2 separate regions of the Homo sapiens genome follow, and region 1 is linked to region 2. The links are contacts of gene promoters, found by promoter capture Hi-C in human tissues and cell types (Jung and others, 2019). All regions are on one chromosome and are shown on one strand. The core of a region is centred on a gene start or on the middle of the fragment in contact, and the rest is flanking DNA. Distances in the headings are between cores, read along the strand shown. Region 1 overlaps FOXP1 (forkhead box P1). Region 2 holds the start of RYBP (RING1 and YY1 binding protein).

Evidence for each region. The method cuts DNA at HindIII sites, captures the fragments that hold promoters and counts their contacts. A contact is called where the count stands out against the background at its distance.
Region 1: a fragment that was not itself captured here is called in contact with the fragment with the promoter of RYBP in region 2 in 1 of the 25 tissues and cell types used here (spleen).

Annotation. Positions count from the first base shown.
Region 1 is chr3:71,090,025-71,092,724 of GRCh38, forward strand. All of the region lies in intron 7 of FOXP1 (forkhead box P1), which reads right to left. Among named protein-coding and RNA genes, the nearest start is that of FOXP1-AS1, 200 kb to the right of the region's middle. The HindIII fragment of the contact is 4,370 bases long and covers 1-2,700 here.
Region 2 is chr3:72,445,334-72,448,033 of GRCh38, forward strand. RYBP (RING1 and YY1 binding protein) reads right to left here and starts at 1,290. Exons shown (of 4, transcript NM_012234.7): 1 at 1,163-1,290. The coding sequence starts at 1,290. RefSeq lists silencers at 1,607-1,666, 1,727-2,136. The HindIII fragment of the contact is 22,535 bases long and covers 1-2,700 here.

The DNA of each region.
Region 1 (2,700 bases), core at 108-2,607, 1.4 Mb before region 2:
TCCAGATTTTTTAAATCTTTGCAAAGAAAAAGAAAGCCTTCAAAAAGTTCGAACCAAAAAAAGGTTAAATGTTGTGTGCATAAACAAAACAGTATCTAGCCTGCGGGCCATCAGTTTGCAATCTCTAATGGGGAATCAATTCCTTACTTTCTTCAACCTTGCTCCCATCATAAAACAAATCTCTCGATTCCTATTTTCAAGAAATTTCATTTTCTAAGCTTCTTTCACATTTTTCTTGGATATTCCCATGTTTTTCAACTAAACAGTACCTCCCTGTTTGTAACAGAGTTGTCACGATGGCTGTTAGAAAACATTTGCCCCGTTTTTCATAAGTGCAGTATGTAATGTGATAATACAGAAGTGAAAGAACAAGTCTCCTGCAGGTGTGAGGAGAACCACCCTTGGGGGGAAAAAGTAACAGGGCAATGAAGAGTAACAAATTACTCAGTCCCCAGGAGAAGCAAGTCAACTCTAACTAGAAGGCTTGATGAAAAGATAATTTTATAATCCATGCTTCCCTTCCCAACACATCAAGACACAATAAAATGAGCATACTCCCTGATCTTCTTTGCATATATGTAACTATAATGTCAAATAAAAAATAACTGTGCAACTGCCTCCTTAAGAGTGCAGGGAAGAACTAGGAGGGGGTCAGAGTGGGGAAGCATGATCATTGCACTCTGTCTTTTCTTCTCAGCAGTTGCACTGCCATTACAGGAGAGCTAGGGTCCTGCACAGAAGACCTACAGAAGTGAACAATTCACTGTAGAATTTGCAACCCATCTGGCATATATCAAAGATTCAGAGACGATAACATAGGTATATGATAACATAGGTATGGCCATTCTAAATGCACTTCGCTCTGAAATGCATAGGGGGTTGACAACTGCCACTCTCTGCCCATCTACTACCATCAGAAAGCCTCAGTATTATATAAAATTCAATTTTTTGTGTGTCCAGACCACTGTAGGATCTCACAAGTAATAACCCAAACCAACATCATCATAATATAATGATCAGAACAACAGCTATAAGAAGGGCAGGTAACATTTTGAGCTACAGGTGCCAGATTCTGTGTGTGTGTGTGTGTGTGTGTGTGTGTGTGTGTATTCTTAAATTAATCCTCTGAATTAATCTGCTGGGTAGACATTTCTACTTTATAGAAGCTCAAAAGTGAGCTTTAGCCCAGGCACGGTGGCTCACGTCTGTAACCCCAGCACTTTGGGAGGCCAAGGTGGGTGGATCACCTGAGGTCAGGAGTTCGAGACCAGCCTGACCAACATGAAGAAACCCCGTCTCTACTAAAAATACAAATAAAATGAGCTGGGCATGGTGGCACATGCCAGTAATCCCAGCTACTTGGGAGGCTGAGGCAGAAGTGCTTGAACCCGGGAGGCGGAGGTTGTAGTGAGCCGAGATCGCACCACTGCATGCCAGCCTGGGTGACAGAGCAAGACTCCGTCTCAAAACAAAACAAAACAAAACAAAACAAAACAAACAAACAAAAAAAAAACTGAGCTTTACTTGGACAAGGTCCCAGAGATGGTAAATGATGGTTTTTAGAATTTGGGTCTATCTACTCCAAAGAGTTACCAAATTAAGCTTAATTGTCTCATCAATATCTCAAGCTCAAGATTAAGGGTAACCCCAAGCTTTTTCCTAACCAGTTAACATATTCAACCAATGAATGTAATGCTATGACATTATGAGTCTAAAATAAAATATAATTCTCAATTATAGAATTATTAATAAAACAAAGACCAATAAACTTCACAGCTGGGAGAGAGGTATGAGAAACACAACTGTAATCAACATTTGGAAATAAGAAACAAAGTTCAAGGATCTGGCTTTTACAAAAGCCAACAGGAAAATCACGATGTAGGCTGAGTGCCATGACTCACGCCTGTAATTCCAGCACTTTGGGAGGCCGAGGCAGGCAGATCACTTGAGGTCAGGAGTTTGAGACCAGCCTGGCCAACATGGTGAAACCCCGTCTCTACTAAAAATACAAAAATTAGCCGGGCATGGTGGCACACGCCTGTAGTCCCAGCTACTTGGGAGGCTGAGGCAGAAGAATCGCTTGAACCCAGGAGGTGGAGGTTGTAGTGAGCTGAGATCGCACCACTGCACTCCAGCCTGGGCGACAGAGTGAGAGACTCTGTCTCAGAAAAAAAACAAAAAACAAAAAAAAACAAAATTAGCTGGGCATGGTGGTGCACGCCTGTAATCCCAGCTACTCGGGAGGCTGAGGCAGGAGAATCGCTTGAACCTGGTGAGTTAGGGAGGAGGTTGCAGTGAGCAAGATGGCATCACTGCACTCCAGCCTGGGTGACAGAAGGAGGCTCCATCTCAAAAAAAGAAAAAAAAGAAAACCAGGATGTGCCAGTCTGTGTCTCTAAGAGGGAGGGCAAGTACAGAGACCCTTGTGGGACCCTAAAATCAGTATCAGCGGAAACTGAAGGTCACGTTCCTCCCCCTCAGATTGAGGACAGGAGGAGGCTGGTCTGTGGAACCGAAGCAAACCTTAGATGGAAGGAAACTTTCAGAGGAAATGATTTAAGCTTTTTTGGTAAGTAGGGTATTTTTCAAATTCTTTTAGAAGTTCTTATTTCCATCTTAAGCCTGCACAAATAAAAATAATTGTCAGTTTTCAAATGTGAGGGAGGGCGTTTGGCTTATTTTCCTTCAAACTTCCAGGTC
Region 2 (2,700 bases), core at 40-2,539:
TCACAGAAACAATAATTAGGCCAATTAATCTCAGAGTTAGATTATTTTAGGTTGCCCAATAATCCTATTTAATCCCAAGTATAAATAAACCAATGAAACCTTAACATGACATATTCATCTAATCAAAGAACAATATCCAGTTGGAACTGTGAAGTACTACTACACAGTCACACTGAAATGTCACCAATTCAAAAATAAGTACCTGATAAAATGAGACTTTTGGCAATCAACTGTAATGTTCTAAAGGATCCACCAAAAACTCATTCTTGTCTCACACACACACCCAATGCCTGTTCATTAAATGACACCAAGAACAGTTTAACTTCAAACTCTAACGCCAATGAAACAAATTCAGACATAAATTAAAAGATGACCAAAAGACTACATGAGTCTTGACATTTTATCCAAGTATTTATGAATGTTAAATCTAAAGTAGTTAACTCGTTTTAACATCACATGCAGTTTACGACCTTCATCAAAATGAAAAGGAATTCTTTCAACATTCTTTTCATCATCACAGAGCTTTAAACACAAACTTCCACAGTCACTGCTCATTTCACCATTTTACAAAATCGTCCCCCATCACCACCCCACATAAGCTAGTCAAAGAAAAAAAAAACTGACAGCTCAGTCTCCCACAAAATGCACTTACTTTATCAAATACCGACATTTATTTTCAAGTGCAAGAAAGTAACAGACATTTGCAGCTCAAGACAGGAAAAGCACAGCCAGCCTTACTACCCCCACTAAATTTCTCAGACAAGAGAAAAGTAACTCGGGACAGGCAAATTAAAACCATTCTACACATGGCAAAAATATAAAACATCTATGTCCTACAATCCATAGCGATAGTACTGCTTCCTCTCTTCCCCAGCCAATACCAATAAGCCAATAGACACAAGTGTCAAATAAATCCAGTGTCCGTTTGAAATAAAATGAAAACCTGGAAAAATTCCCTCCCATAAATCATTTAGCGAACACAAGGCTTTTCACCCAACACTTAATACACTCAACCCAAAAACACACACAACCCACCCGCAAATACAAAAAAAGCCGTAATCAACAAGTTGGAAAAAGGGCAGAAAGTAAGGCTCACTACCCTCTCACTTAAAAAAAAAAAAAAAAAGTCCTTTAACAAAAGGTAACACAGATCTTCAAGTACCTGGTGGAGGTGCCTTTCCTCACATCGCAGATGCTGCATTTAAAGGCTTCAGCACTGTTTCTGAAGGTGCAGACGCTACAATCCCAAAACCCTTCGTCTGCGGCAGGTTTCGCTTGTCTTTTTGGCCTTCCGAGGAGTGGAGAGTGGGGGAAAAGGGAGGGAAGAGGCAGGGAGCAGGAAAACGGGGGAGAGACAGCAAAACACAGACGCGGGTGAGCCGTCGTAATTTCGCAGGAATCCAGTGCTGGAAACTTCGCTCGGGAGACCACCCACCCACCCTTTCCGGGGACTGGAAGAGAGAGCGAGGAAGGGAACCGGGCGCCCCCACTGGCACCCTGCAAGCCCCGGGCCCGGGCCGGATAGCCTCGCACACCAGGCGGTGGCGGCGGCGCCCCGGGAAGGGCCGCGGCGGGCGCAGGAAGCGGGCGGACTTGTGGACTTGAGCGTGGGGCTGGGGGGGCCGGGAGGGGAGCCGCGGGCCGGATCTGGAGGGGGCGCGCAGGGGCAGCCCGAGGCCGGCGACGGGGAGTGGGCCGGCTCCTTCCCTCTCCACTCCCAAGCTCGCGCCCTCCCTCCCTCCCCACCTGGTTAAATCCATCACAGTCTCCGGACGAGACTAGTCCCCGCCAGCGCCGCCTCCGCCGAGTGACTGACGAGGGGCGGGGCCTGGCGCCGCGCGTCACGCGCCGTGCGGCCAATGGGAGGGCGGCGGCCGGCGCCGCGAGGGCGGAGGCGGGGCGCGGGGGAAGGCGGGGCGTGGCGGACGTGGGCCGGGCGGTCGGTGTGCGTGCCCGGGAGTGTGTGCGCGCTGGGGGCGCGCGTGCCTGTCGGTGGCCCCGCGGCCCGGCGCGGCGGAGCGTGCAAGCCCGGCGGGGCGCACGTGGCCGCGCCCGGGAGCTGGCAACTGGCTTCGGGCCCCGCACGGCGCCCCGTGAGGCTGTTGCCGGGACCCCGGCCCCGAAGCCGCCCCGGGGAAGTAGTTCCACGCAGTTTGCGCGCGCCGCGGGAGCTTGCAACAGCCTCACCGCTCGCAGCGCCTCGAGGCTTGCAGTGCCCAGGGGCCGACAAGGTCCACCTTTGGACCGCGTTCCCCCGCGCCCCTCTGTTCCTCTGCCATGCGGAGCTTTGTATTTGCCTCTTCTGAAGTCCCTGCGTCCGGCCGAGACGCTGGCCCGAAGCCCCACTCCCTGTCAGGCCCCTGTCGCGGGAGGGAACAGTAGAGAAAGGGCGTGGCATAACTAAATGCCCCCAGGCCAGACTCTGAGCTTCTGCTGGCGGACTCCTCCTGGGATCCTCCTCTCCCCTAGAGTCTAAATAGGGCGTTTCCTTAGGGAAGTTGCTATTCAAATTCTGGCGACCACATGCCCGCATTAAAACCTCGTGCCTCAGCTCCTTCATCTCCAAAATGGGGCTCATCCTCCCAGGGTTGTTTTGAATATTCGGAGAAATCAGGCATGGAAGGTTCGCTGATGGATGCCTGGTATTCACGAAGGACCAAAACAAGATATTGGGTATTAGGAGCTATTATAACTGGGCCT